Regions from separate parts of the Homo sapiens genome. Here regions 2 and 3 are each linked to region 1. The links are contacts of gene promoters, found by promoter capture Hi-C in blood cells and fetal thymus (Javierre and others, 2016). All regions are on one chromosome and are shown on one strand. Each heading gives the region's core, a stretch centred on a gene start or on the middle of the fragment in contact. The rest is flanking DNA. Distances are from core to core; before and after follow the strand shown. Region 1 holds the start of PDZD9 (PDZ domain containing 9). Region 2 holds the start of LOC124903666 (a long non-coding RNA gene). Region 3 overlaps VWA3A (von Willebrand factor A domain containing 3A).

Region 1 (4,590 bases), core at 829-3,328:
GCTTGGTGGAGTGTAGAGACCTCCGCTTTAAAGACACTTTTTAGCCTGGGGTGGAGGGAAGACTAAGGGGAGGCCAGGCACTGATATGCTCCATCACAGAACCATATATGCTGATGGGCTCTATTCCCACAAACTCTTACCCTTCCCCTGCTGGTAGGAAGATGGAGGAAAAAGATGTATTTTATGATAGAATTAAGTTGGTATCTATGTAGACCCCTGCCAGACTGTTTGGAAGAGGAAAGGTGACCTGTCACAAGAAGTCACCCACAGGAGACTTGAGGTGGAGAATAGCCCTTTGTACTGGTCTCTACGACACAGGTTTTATCTAATGAGAAATCTGTCCTGGCGCTCACGCCTGTAATCCCAGCACTTTGGGAGGCCAAGGCGGGTGGATCACCCTGAGCTCAGGAGTTGGAGACCAGTCTGGCCAACATGGCAAAACCCTGTCTCTACTAAAAATACAAAAATTAGCTGGGCGTGGTGACACAGGCTTGTGGTCCCAGCTACTCTGGTGGCTGAGGTGGAAGGATCGCTTGGGCCTGGAAGGCGGAGGTTGCAGTGAGCTGAGATTTTGTCACTGCACTCCAGCCTGGGTGACAGAATGAGACCCCATCTCAAAAAAAAAAAAAAAAAAAAGGAACCTAAAGAGGAATCTGCCCTGGCTTATTGTCTGTGTAGAGCCACAGAAACAACAGAATAAGCTTGGACATAACCAGATCTACCATGGAAATCTTTGCACAGTGCCTGACACCTAATAGGTGGTTAATGACTGTTTGTTGAAGGGATGGGGCAAGGTGCTTAGCCTCTCAGTTTCATCAGACCGGGGATAACACCAGGGCCTACCTCATTAGGTTTTCTCTTTCTTCTAGAATTTACTAACTCATTTATTCATTTTTATTTTTTGAGACAGGATCTTGCTCCATCACCCAGGCTGGAAGGTGGTGACTCAATCATAGCTCACTGCAGCCTTGAATCCTGGGCTCAAGTGATCCTCCCATCTCAGCCTCCTGAGTAGCTAGGACTACAGATGTGCACCACCATGCCCAGCTAATTTTTAAATTTTTTTTATAGAGAAAGGGTCTCACTATGTTGCCCAGGCTGATCTCAAACTCCTGGGCTCAAGCAGTCCTCCTGCCTCAGTCTCCTGAGTACCTAGGATTACAGGTGTTAGACACCACACCTGGCCTAGAATTTATTTTTAATAATTTATATTTTCCTAAAATTGTCCACTTCATCTGTTTTTTAAGTACAGGTTTCAAGAGGATAGAGCCTGTGTTTCTGTGTTTGTCTTGCTTACTGTTGTGTCCCCAGTATCAGTAAATGACAGAACAGCTCCCTGTAAATACTTGTTGTATGAGTGAATGTGTGTGGGAGGAAGAATTATCTTGGAAAAAAGAAGGAAGCATTAATAGTGCCTCTCCTAATAGTGACTCATTTTTTTTTAGGCCACCCTGGGGCCTTTTCTTATTCAAAACATTCATGAAAAAAAGTGCAGTTCCAAAGCATTGGAGCTACTGATGTAACAATTTTTTTAAAATACCATTATTAGAAGTGCAGCGGGGGATTCTCTGATCTTCTAGGTATTCTGTGATCTCCTGTGATCTTCTGGCTGTGATCTTCCTCTGCAGACCACCTCACATCTTTGAGACACCCTCCTCTGTGCCTTCTCCCCCTCCCTATTTCTTAGGTTCACCAAGAATGAATGAAGAAGCCAAGCGCGGTGGCTCATGCCTGTAATCCCAGCACTTTGGGAGGCTGAGGCGGGCAGATCGCTTGAGCCCATAGTGCAACAGTTGTGTTGAGCCTGAGCAACATAGTGAGACCCCCACCCCCTGCCCGTCTCTTAAAAAAAGAAAAAGAAAAGAAGGAATGAAGAAACCACCGTGGGTCAGGCACGGTGCTAACCTCTGCAGAAGTTTCCATACAGTACAATGGTGTGCAATGCCCACGCCACGTTTTGCAGGGTCCACGGGAAGCCTTGCGGCGACCTCACTGCCGCCCAATTTCTGGGCAGTGGCGGCGCAGCGCCCCCTGGCGGCCATCCCGAGGGCAGTGCCCGCGGGCAAGGTTCGAAACTGTTGGCATTGGGACTGACTCCAGCCTCTGCTCCGGGAGGCCCTCCCGGGCTGCCTGACCTCCCGGGACCATGCAGAAGGCCTCCCACAAAAACAAAAAAGGTAACTGGGGAGAAGGAAGCGGGTGAAGAAGCCCTGGGGACCAAGCCTTCGTCAATGTTCCTCCTCTGTAAAATGGCAACGGTGCACTCTTGGCCTGGGAGATAACCTCTCTCCATCGTTGTTGTTATCATCATCATCATTATCATCATCATCATCATCATCATCATCATCATCATCATCATCATCATCATTTGAGAAGGAGTCTTGCTTTGTCCCCCAGGCTGGAGTGCAGTGGCGCGATCTCAGCTCACTGCAACCTCTGCCTCCCAGGCTCAAGTGATTCCTCTGCCTTAGCCTCCCGAGTAGCTGGGATTACAGGTGCCTGCCACCATGCCCAGCTAATTTTTTATTTTTAGTAGAGATGGGATTTCACCATGTTGGCCAGGCTGGTCTCAAACTCCTGACCTCAAGTGATCCGCCCGCCTTGGCCATCGTTATTTTTATCAAGGTATAATTTCCATGCAGTAAGATCCCCCCTTTTAAAAGTACAGCTACCGTTTTGACAAGCTATACCCACGTTGAACCACCCCCTCCATCAAGATAGGGAACAGTTCCACCACTCCCTAAAATTACTTTGCAATGCCCAGTTGCAGCCAAACCCCACCCCACTGCAGCTCCTCACACCCCCATCTGTTTTTTACAGCGTTTTTTTTTTTTTGCCTTTTCCATGGAGAACATCATAAAAATGAAATCACATAGTAAGGAGCCTTTAAAAAATTATACCAATGTAAATAGGGACTTTGGCCCTTTCATTTTTATTAAAAGGGCACATAAATCTTAAAATAGCATATGGGTCACTGTATTTTATTTTTAGAGACAGAGTCTTGTTCTGTCGCTCAGGCTGGAGTGCAGTGGTATGCTCCTGGCTCACTGCAGCCTCCAATTCTTGGGCTCAAGCAATCCTCCTGCATCAGCCTCCCATAGCTGGGACTGTAGGCATGCACCACCACATTCAGCTAATTTTTTTTTTTTTTTTGAGACAGAGTCTTGCTCTGTGACCCAGGCTAGAGTGCAGCGGCATGATCTTGGCTTACTGCAACCCCCGCCTTCCAGGCGGGTTCAAGCGATTCTTGCCCCTCAGCCTCCAGAGTAGCTTGGATTACAGGCGTGAACCACCACGCCTGGCTGATTTTTGTGTTTTCAGTAGCAACGGTGTTTCACCATGCTGGCCAGGCTGGTCTCGAACTCCTGACCCCAAGTGATCCGCCCACCCTCGGCCTCCCAAAGTGCTGGGATTACAGGTGTGAGCCACCATGCCCAGCCTAAATAGAAGAGATGAGGTGTCACTATGTTGCCCAGGCTCTAATCACTTTATACTTCTGCTAGCCCCCAGGTGGGCTTACTGAAGGATGCAGACTCCTGCACTGAGCAATTCTTGTTCTTTATGGCTTTTTTCCGCACAGCATCAGGATTTGATAAGACTTGAGGTTGGCAAAGAGGCTGAACTAGGCAGGCAGGTGCCAGACAGCCTTAGGCTTTTTCACTGCAGGGCTGTTGTCATTTGGACTGCTTGTCCTTGGGAAGGTTGACATTGCTGTCTGACTAGCCTTGTAGCAAAACCTGTAAGTCTTTCATATTTTAGTCTGGTGCTTGGGGTCTGGCTCTCCGAGGACCATAGTGCTGCCTCCTCCACCTGGTTGTCCCCAAACACAGCAGCTCACTCTTTTCTGAGCTCACCCTTTTCCAGGGAGGAAGCATTGAAGATCTCACTTTCAACAGCAGTAGGATCATCTTTGTCAGTACCTTCGGGTTCCAGGGTCCCTGCCACTGGGCCCTAGCGAGCACTTTCCTCAGGTTTCATGTCTAATAGTTCATCCTGAGCATGCACTGTGTGAAGAGCCTTTGCCTAAAACACATAAAATACCTTTTCCATCTTCAGTGTTTTCCTTGTCGTGGTTTTCATCCTCTAATGAAATTAATTGACTCAGCTCCTGCACTGTTACATCTGTGCTTTCCTGCTGGGTGAGCTTCTTTTCTTCTTTCTCAACTAGTTTTTTCAGAGGGTTTTGTAAGTGCTTTAAAGTAGTGACTTCATATGGCTGATAACCTGTGAAGCTCTCATGGATGGCTGCCATAGTGTGAGAAGTCTTCTCTCCAAAATGAAGCAGAGTGGTCTGGTATGTTGCTAGCATTTGAGACAGGAGATTGCATGTATTTACTTGCTCCAAGAAAATCTACATCCAACTTCACTTTGTCAAGGTTTTTTTCTCTCTCTTTTTTTTTTTTTTTTTTTTTTTTTGAGATGGAGTCTTGCTCTGTCACCCAGGCTTGTAGCTGGGATTACAGGCATGCACCAACATGCCCAGATAATTTTTTTTTGTTTTTGAGACAGAGTCTCGCCCTGTCACCCAGGCTGGAGTACAATGGCGCCATCTCAGCTCACTGCAACCTCTGCCTCCTGGGTTCAAGCGAT
Region 2 (4,590 bases), core at 954-3,453, 190 kb before region 1:
CAGAAGGCGTGCCCAAACATGGAAGGGCGGGAAGGGGCGTGGCTATGACATGAAGGCGGGGTTAGGCCTGGAGAGCGGCTCAGGACTAGGCTCTGAAGTCAGGGGGCGGGGAAGAGGCGTGCCCAAGCCGTGAAGCAGGGGCGGGGTTATAAAACGGGGGCGGGGCTAGGTCTGGAGGTCTGCTCAGGGGCTAGGCCAGGAAATCAGTGAGCGGGGAAGAAGGCGTGCCCAATTTGAAGGGCGGGTCAAGGGCGTGGTCAAAACATGGAAAGAGACTCGGGGCTACGCGTCTGGGCCGACCAGGGACGTGGCCAGGATTCAGGGGGCGGAGCAGGAGCGTGCCCACTTCGGAGGGCGGGGCGGGACAGGACAGGGGCGGGGCCAAAACACAGGAAGGGCGCAAGGCAAGGTCTGGGAGTAGATAGGGGCGTGGCCAGAAGTCGGCGGTCCGGGCTAGGTCTGGAGAGCGGCTCGGGGGCGTGACCAGGATTCAAGGGGCGGAGCGGAGGCGCGCTCAAACCCAGAAGGCGGGGCAGGGGCTGGTACAAGCCCAGGGAGCCGGGCGTGGGCGAGGGTGCAGCGGGGCCGACCCTAGCGGGCGGCGGACGGCGGACGGTCACAGGCGCTCCACGGCGGCGTGCAGAGGCTGCAGGCCTAGGAAGTGCAGGGCCAGGGCGAGCAAGCCGAGGAACAGCAGCAGCCTGAGCAGCAGGCGCAGGAGGGTCCGCGCCGTGGAGCCGCGGGGCCGCCGGGTCGTGGACTGCACGTATAGCTCCACGGCGTCGGCGAACCTAAACTTATCCGGCGCGTAGCCGAGCTGGGCGCGGGCCTTGGCTATCTGGAAGGTGTGCGTCACGGCCACGCTGCGCACCTGCGGGGACAGGCGGGGCATCCGAGGGCGGGCCTCGTGGGAGGAGGACATCCTCTACTTCGTTGTTTACGGAAAGGGAAAAGAGAGGGCAGGGATTTCCCCTCCATTACATAGTGATTTAAAAGGACCCGAGTGCAGCGTCTTGCTCCTGCGATGCCCTCATTAGAGAGGTCTTCCTTTCTTCCTTACATGTTCATTTTTATTGGAGGGTGCCGCCTTTGCGTCGCCCCCTCCAGCCCCGCTGAATTCGCACCCTATTTAACTCCTTGGTCCCTAAGAAGCAAAGGTCTCACCCCTACACTCATCTTCCCGGCCTAGCACGGTGCTGGGACTCAGGAGGCCCTTGATACATTCTTAGGCATCCGCTAGGAGAAGGTGAACGCCTGCCAGAAACATCTGCAGGAAACGACCTTGGCTTCCTGCCCCCAACCCCAGACCAACTGTGACCAGGAGGGCCCCAGTCGCAGCCTTCATGCCCTCGCTTATTAACTAAGCTTCCCTAAGAGAGGAATTCGATTATGCAGAACTGATTGCTCTCCAGGGTCTAAGCTGTGTTTCCCCTGCTGCCAGATGGCTTGGGGCCCACTGGTTTGAAGGGTAGTAATGATAGCTATCAGCAGTTAAGGAACACACACCCTGCATTTGGCCTGGACTAAATCCTTTCTATGCCCTACCTCATTTAATCCTCTCAGGTGGTACTAGCACTATCTGTTCTGTGCATACTTGGAAAAAGGTCAGAGAGGTTGAGTGACTTGCCTGGGGTCGCACAGGGGAGCCAGGTTCTAGCCTAATTTCTTCTCTGCTGTGCTGGCACCTGGAGATGTTCTCCCACCTGACTCATTTCTTCCTCTCTTTTTCCTCAGCCGGACCCTGGGGAAGAATCCACCAGCTGCTGGATTCTCCCATGGCATTGAAACAGCCCCTGGGGTCAAACCTGTGGTCTTGGATGCTTAATGGGGGGTGAGGAGAGAGGCCAGTATTTGTCCCTTTTTTTCCTAGTCAGTAAGTGCAGGGCTTTGGGGAGCACAGGAGTTGAGTTACGCTAGATAAGCAGGGTCCCTAATACACCTAGATGTCTCTAGATGTCACCTCTGGGAAGCTTTCTCTGACTTCCTCAGAGTTGGCTGAGGCGCCCCTTCTGTGTGCACTGGAGTTTCTCGCGATTTTCCCAAGAATGGCTCTAATTACAGTGTTGAGTTGCCTGGTTAGTGGGCTGTCTTCCCCTTTGAACTAGGAGCTCCCTAAGGGCAAGGACTATGTCTTCTTGCCTCCGTTGCTCAGCACAGTGCCTGGTAACATTTATGTTAAATGCATAAAAGGCTATAAAGTCAAACTGGAGGGCTGGTTGATGTGTCACAGATTGACCAGCAGAGGGTACCCGAGCCACAGCCAAGGAACTTCCACAGTTAAGGACATTGCCCCTGAGCTGAACAAGGAAATCCCCAAGTTAAACAAGAGGGAGAGGAGCCAAGTCCCTGCCTGACCACAATTCAGCTGCACCCTGGCAGCTATTTTATGTGGATGTGATTCCTGATGCATTTTCACAAGCTAATGGTTAAGCTTGAAATCACTGAGGTCTGGGTTCAAATCCCAGCTCTACCATTTAAGTGAGTGATCACGGGCAGGTTATTTCACTGTGTGTCTCATTTCCTCCTCTCTAAATGGAGAGGACAATGTTGTCTACAACTCAGTTAAATGAGATAAAGCACAGTGCCTGGCATACTGTCACAACTCAAGAGATTGTCAGTATCATCTTATTCTCTCCTCCACTGATCCGGATGGCTCAAAGGAGAAGCCATAGGTGACTACTTCTTTCTGTGGCCCATTCTCCACTCTCCCCCTCTGACTCCCCTTGTTAAAGAGCACTGAACATGGAGTCTGAAGCCAATTCCAGTATGGTGTGGCCTTGGACAAATAATTTTCCTAGTGCTCAATTTTTCATCATAAAATGGAGATCACGATTTTTTTTTGACCTTTTTAACTTAGCAGGGCATCAGAGACAATAAAACGAGAGTGGACTGGAAGTAATTTTTTTTTTTTTTTTAGATGGAGTCTTGTGCTGTCACCCAGGCTGGAGTACAATGGTGTGGTCTCAGCACACTGCAACCTCCACCTTCCAGGTTCAAGCGACTCTTCTGCCTCAGCATCCCGAGTAGCTGGGACTACAGGTATGTGCCACCACACCCAGCTAATTTTTGTATTTTTAGTAGAGACAGGATTTCACTGCGTTGGCCAGGCTGGTCTCAAACTCCTGACCTCAGGTTATCCACCCGCCTCAGCCTCCCAAAGTGCTGGGAACAAGTGTGAGCCACCGTGCCCGACTGGACTGGAAGGATTTTTGCAAATAACCTCAAATACCACCGATTACTTTGCTATTTACAATCTGTGATGAAAACATCCTCTCTTTTAACTAAGCAAATATAAACCTGCATCATCATTATTATGAGAATAGTATTCTGAGCCAGGCATGGTGGTGCATGCCTGTAATCTCAGCTATTTAGAAGGCTGAGGGGGGAGAATCTTTTTTTTTTTTTTTGGTTTTTAGGGGCAGGATCTCCATCTGTTGCCTAGGCTGGAGTACAGTGGTGCAATCTGCAGCCTTGAACTCCTGGGCTCAAGTAATCCCCCACCTGAGCTGGGACTAAAGGCATGCACCACCTTGCCTGGCTAATTTTAAAATTTTTTGTAGAGATGAGGTCTTGCTATGTTGCCCAGGCTGGTCTCAAACTCCTGGCCTCAAGTGATCCTCCTGTCTCAGCCTCCCAAAGCACTGGGATTATAGGTGCGAGCCACCACACCTGGCCAAGAGGATCTCTTGAGCTCAGGAGTTTGAAACCAGCCTGGACAATATAGTGAGACCCTGTCTCATAAAAATAATTATATTCTGTATGTAGTAGGTACTTAATATATACTCATTATTCAGTAAGCATGAACTATGAGCCTAGGACCACCAGGCTGTTGTGTGTGTGTATGTATGTGTTGAGAGTTGGTGGGATTGGTAGCATTCAAAGAAGTGAATGGCCTGAAACTTGCCTTTGGGAACCTCCAGTCTGGCTGGAAAGACAAGATGCTTATGAATGAAGAAACAGTGATGATGGATAGGCTTGGAGCTGTCACATTTCAGACCCAGAAAGCACAGCCTCAGCAAAAGCCCAGAGGTTGGGGTGATCATAACAGAGCTAGCACCAGCTTTGGGCCCACATGGAAAGTTCTGAGACTTCAGACAAGCATGTGTCATCATGGTGTCAAAGGGGTAAGGAGTGGCAGCAGTGGGGATGGTGGGGAGAGGTAGGAAGGGAGGGATGGGGAGCAGGGCCTAGGTCCCATAACAGCAGCCCACTTACCTCACTACGAGTGAGCAGCGGTGGGAGGCTGCAGATGGGTCTCAGGGCCAGATGGAGGCGCTCCATAACTGCTGCTGCAGGGAAGGAGGGGGCCAGTGACCAGGGGCCTCACATTATGCAAACTCCAGGGAGGCCCTTGGGGACAAATCAATGGGGGACACCATTTGCTTTGCTAGAGGTCACTTTGCAGAAGTCACTGGATTCCTTTAAATCAGCAGCCCTTGCTGGGGTGCCTTGTTTAGCTGTGAAATATGTCACAAGTAACTTGTTTTTAATATTAAATGACCAGGCTGGGTGCAGTGGCTCAAGCCTGTAATCCCAGCACTTTGGGAGGCTGAGGCGGGCGGATTGCCTGAGATCAGGAGTTCGAGACCA
Region 3 (4,590 bases), core at 1,003-3,502, 150 kb before region 1:
GTCCAAGCTACTTGGGAGGCTGAGGTGGGAGATCACTTGAGCCCAGGACGTTGAGGCTGCAGCGAGCTATGATCACACCACTGCACTCCAGCCTGGGAGACAGAGTGAGACCCCGTCTCAAAACAAACAAGCAAACAAACAACCCAAACAATCCTATCTCAGCCAGTGACTGGTTACCCGATCTTCAGCAAGTGTCTTAACCTCTTGAAGTCCTGGCTTCCTTTTCTGAAAAATGGGGGCCGATAACAGCAACACCTCACGGGCTCATTGTGAGAGTTGATGAAATGATGCGTGTAAAGCATCTGGTGCACAGAAAGTGCTCAATAAATGTATACTCTGATTAAGGCAAGAACGAGGCCTAGTCTACGATGAGAGTCCCCTGGGGTCCCCTTCGGGTCAACCCTTCTGGATGGGGAAAATAAACAACTTCCTCCACTCAAAAATCAAGTTCACAAAAATTAAAAAAATTAAATCATTAAATAATTTAAAACAAATCAAGTTCAGCTGAAAGCCATACTTCAAGGCCACATGGTAGTTCCTTTGCTGTGCTTGCAATTGTCCCTAGGCCTGAAATTAATTTTTAAAAATTGCGTTCCTTTTTTTTTTGAGACAGGGTCTTACTCTGTTGCCCAGGCAGGAGTGCACTGGTGCAATCATAGCTCACTGCAGCCTCAACCTCCTGGGCTCAAGTGATCCTCCCTTCTCAGCCTCCCAAGTAGTTGGGGCTACAGGTGCACACCACCATACCCAGCTAATTTTTAAATGTTTTGAAGAGATGGGATGACACTTTGTTGCTGAGACTGGTCTTGAATTCCTGAGCTCAAGTGATCCTCCTGCCTTGGCCCCCAAAATTGCTGGGATTACAGGTATGAGCCACCATACCCGGCCTCTAAAAACTGATTTCCTTCACAGCAGAGCAGAATACAGTGCTCTTTCCTACTCAAACGCGTTACTCAGAAGAGCATCTCAGAAACTCCAGGCCTGTTGGCACTGAGAAGAGGGGGCGTGCTTGGCCAGGGAAGCCCCAGGAACTGCCCCTTTGATCTTCCTGATCAGCCCTCGCCTCCTACCTGTCACAGCACTTCCGCAGCTGTTCCCAAATCAGCAAAACCAGCTCTGTCTTCACCTGCTGCAGGTAGGGGCCCATGGACCCTGACGTGTCCAGCAATATGCATACTTTGCTCTCCAAAACGGTGCCAAACAGTCGGCGGCTCCCTGCTCCGAGACAGGTGGGGAAGAGGCAGGGAGGGAGTGAGGGGTCCCTCCTCCTGGGTGGTTTCCCTCACTCTATCTATCAAGTATAAAGTCTTGTGACACCTGTTGCCTGCCTGATCATTGATTGGATGTCACCCCACTGAGAGACGGCTTTTGTGGTGCTGTGGGAGGGGTCGATTGTCCAAGGACAGACCTGGTCAGTGGTTTGGGCTTTGGGAGATCGAGATTTCAGCTCTGGCTTTGTCTGTGATGAGTTGCACAAGCGGTTATAACCTCCTGGGCTTGAATTTCCTTATCCTTAAAGTTAAGTGATTGGATTAAATAGTACCATGACATTGTTTTAAAATATTAGATGGTGTTTGGGTGTGTACTGGTATGTGAGCTGGGGGATTCATACTACAAAAGAAATCGCTGGATCTCTGGTTTTATGTCACCGTTCCCAGGGGTAATGTGAACCGAGGGTGGAGAGAGGCTCACGCCTTCTCTGTCCCAGCTCAGCCTCTGACCTGACAACTGTACCTGAAGCAGCAGTCATCATGACGCCCCTGTCCATGGACTGTCTATACCAGGTCCTACTGCAGAGGACTGGACCTAATGAATTTACACAGGACCCTGAGTGGCACGTACAAAGCCACCTGTAGGATCTCTATATAGGACTCCCTTCCTCCCTCCTCCTGATGCCCCAGAAACCCTCCAGGCCCCATAGCCCGAATCCCCTCCTGTCCAGTTCTAGCTGTCTGCCTGTCTTCTTGGGCTTGATGCTTCCAGACCGTCTCTTAATCCACAGCCCAACCCTGTCCATTCACCTCTCCTGGAGGGGACTTGGTGCTCTCTGTAAAGAGGTACACAGTAGCTCACACCTATAACCCCAGGACTTTGGGAGGCTGAGGCAGGAGGATAGCTTGAGCCTAGGAGTTCGGGGCCAGCCTGTGCAACATAGAAAGACTCTGTATCTAAAAAAAATAAATAAAGTAAGCTGGGCATGGTGGCACGTGCCTGTAGTCTCAGGTCCTTGCAAGGTTGAGGTGGGAGGATTGCTTGTGCCCAGTTCAAGGCTGCAGTAAGCCATGACTGCACCACTGGACTCCAGACTAGGTGACAGAGAAAGACCCTGTTTCTAAAACAAAACAAAACAGAGGGTTTCTGCTCTGTCAGTTCCCCTTACCATCTGCATCTCCAGGGGCTGTTTTGCTGGGGCGCAGTCAATATTAAAGCAAACCTTTTGACAGTGAGCCCCTTGTCACTTGCAGGAAGGCAAGGTGTGGCAGGTGGCCTTGCAGAGCAGGCTGGGATGCGTGTGAGCTCCCGCTGGGGCTCTTTGGCCCATGTTCCACCTCCCTGTTATCCAGCCCCTTGCCTGTCCTCTGAACCCACTGTCATTTTTTTTTTTTTTGGATAGAGTTTCACTCTTGTTGCCCAGGATGGAGTGCAGTGGCGCGATCTCAGCTCACTGCAACCTCTGCGATTTTCCTGCCTCAGCCTCCTGAGTAGCTGGGATTACAGGTGCCCGCCACCATGCCTGGCTAATTTTTTGTATTTTTAGTAGAGACGGGTTTCATCATGTTGGCCAGGCTGGTTTCGAACTACTGACTGGTGATCCACCCACCTTGGCCTCCCAAAGTGCAGAGATTACAGGCATGAGCCACCACGCCCGGCCTCCCAGTGTCATGTTGTATGTGGATGATGTTCCTGGCCTAATCCTCTGATCTGCAGTTCTTGAAGGCCTGGCTTTGGAAGGACTGACACTGGGGTCCCTGGGGCTAGCCTTCTACATCCCCTCATGCTCCTCCACCCTTCAGGGCAGTGGGCAGGCTCACCGGACAGCAGCCACTGCAGCCTCTGGACATAGCGCCTTAACACCTTCTCCAAGTGCCTGATGTACACCTCCATCTCCCTGGGCGTCCACTGGATGTGTCTCACCACTCCCTGGGTTAAGGCAAGCAGAGGCAAGCACCCACCCCATCAGTCATTTCTTCATATCCCCATCACCCCCTAAAATTGTTTATTCCATTGTGGTTAACAATTCTCAAAATATTTGTTGGCTGGGCACGGTGGCTCATGCCTGTAATCCCAGCGCTTTGGGAGGCCGAGGCAGGAGGATCGCTTGAGCCCAAGAGATCAAGACCAGCCTGGGTAACATAGGGAGACCTCATCTCTACCAAAAACAGAAAATTTAGCTGGTGTGGTGGCATGTGTCTGTGGTCCCAGCTGCTTGGGGGAGGCTGAGGTGGGAGGATTGCCTGAGCCCAGGGAGGTAGAGGCTGCAGTGAGCTGTGATTGCACCACTGCACTCCTGCCTGGATGACAGAGCAAGATCCTGTCTCAACAAACAAACAAAAACCCACAAAAAACAACCATCTGTTAAGTGTATTTTTTTTTTTTGTTTAAAGCCTTTTTTTCTTCTATTAAACTAGTGGATTTATGGTTCTACAAAGGAGTAGGGAATTAAGATTTTTTTTTTGGTAAATGCAGTTGCTATATTAATAAAAATCATAATAATTTCTGATTTTTTTTTTTTTTTGAGACAGAGTCTCAGTCGGTTGCCCAGGCTGTGTAGTGCAGTGGTGCGATCTCGGCTCACTTCAGCCTCTGCCTCCCGGGTTCAAGCGATTTTCCTGCCTCAGCCTCCTGAGTAGCTGGGATTACAGGTGCACAGCACCATGCCTGGCTAATTTTTGTATTTACAGTAGAGACGGGGTTTCACTGTGTTGGCCAGGGTGGTCTCGAACTCCTGACCTCAGGTGATCCGCCCGCCTTGGCCTCCCAAAGTTCTGGGACTACAGGCATGAGCCACTGCGTCTGGCCAATAATCTCTAAATTTTAAAATAGAAAACTCTAAATGGTGGGGTAAGAAGTTCATAAATTTTGAACTGAAAGATGACTTCAGGTGGAGAGGGGCAACATGCTAGAATGACCCTATATTCCTCTAGTGAATAATTTTGAATTTTGTGGCTATTTTTAGTTTCCCCTAATCTTGACAATGTAGGATAAGAGGGCAAGGAGAGAAATGATCAGATTTTCATTCTGTACTAAATTTACTTGTTCCAGTGTCAAAGCAATAAAAAATCACCCCAAAATTAGAAAATAGAAAAGAGAACCCTTCACTTCCTATCACAACCCCTATTTGCTGCCATAACAGAACCATCATCAGTATTGGGGTACAGCATTCTTATGGGTGAACACTTCAGCCACGGCCCAATCTTCTCAGCAATTGCTATTTTTCCTATCTTTTCCTTTTTATGTTTTAAGAGTCAGGCTCCTGCCCCATGGCCCAGGCTGGAGTGCAGTGGCGTGATCACGGCTCACTGCAGCCTTGAACTCCATGACTCAACTAATCCTCCCGCCTCAGCCTCCCAAGTAGCTCGGACTACAGGC

The links. Contacts are between HindIII fragments. The CHiCAGO score rates a contact against its expected background, and 5 or more counts as called.
Region 2: a fragment that was not itself captured here is called in contact with the fragment with the promoter of PDZD9 in region 1 in 17 of 17 cell types (naive CD8 T cells, total CD4 T cells, megakaryocytes and 14 more); the score reaches 64.6 in naive CD8 T cells.
Region 3: a fragment that was not itself captured here is called in contact with the fragment with the promoter of PDZD9 in region 1 in 1 of 17 cell types (M0 macrophages); the score reaches 5.1 in M0 macrophages.

What each region holds. Positions count from the first base shown.
Region 1 is chr16:21,998,604-22,003,193 of GRCh38, reverse strand. It overlaps PDZD9 (PDZ domain containing 9), which reads left to right and starts at 2,078. Exons shown (of 4, transcript NM_001363519.1): 1 at 2,078-2,177. The coding sequence starts at 2,147. It also overlaps the pseudogene LOC100420536. RefSeq lists an enhancer at 1,883-1,932. The HindIII fragment of the contact is 4,622 bases long and covers 704-4,590 here.
Region 2 is chr16:22,186,420-22,191,009 of GRCh38, reverse strand. It overlaps SDR42E2 (short chain dehydrogenase/reductase family 42E, member 2), which reads right to left. Exons shown (of 13, transcript NM_001394319.2): 12 at 4,216-4,289; 13 at 1-871. The coding sequence ends at 617. It overlaps LOC124903666 (a long non-coding RNA gene), which reads left to right and starts at 2,998. Exons shown (of 2, transcript XR_007065028.1): 1 at 2,998-3,039. RefSeq lists silencers at 404-503, 644-693, 784-873 and an enhancer at 199-698. The HindIII fragment of the contact is 461 bases long and covers 1,973-2,433 here.
Region 3 is chr16:22,144,787-22,149,376 of GRCh38, reverse strand. It overlaps VWA3A (von Willebrand factor A domain containing 3A), which reads right to left. Exons shown (of 34, transcript NM_173615.5): 27 at 3,033-3,141; 28 at 1,071-1,215. Among named protein-coding and RNA genes, the nearest start is that of SDR42E2, 15 kb to the left of the region's middle. The HindIII fragment of the contact is 7,143 bases long and covers 1-4,590 here.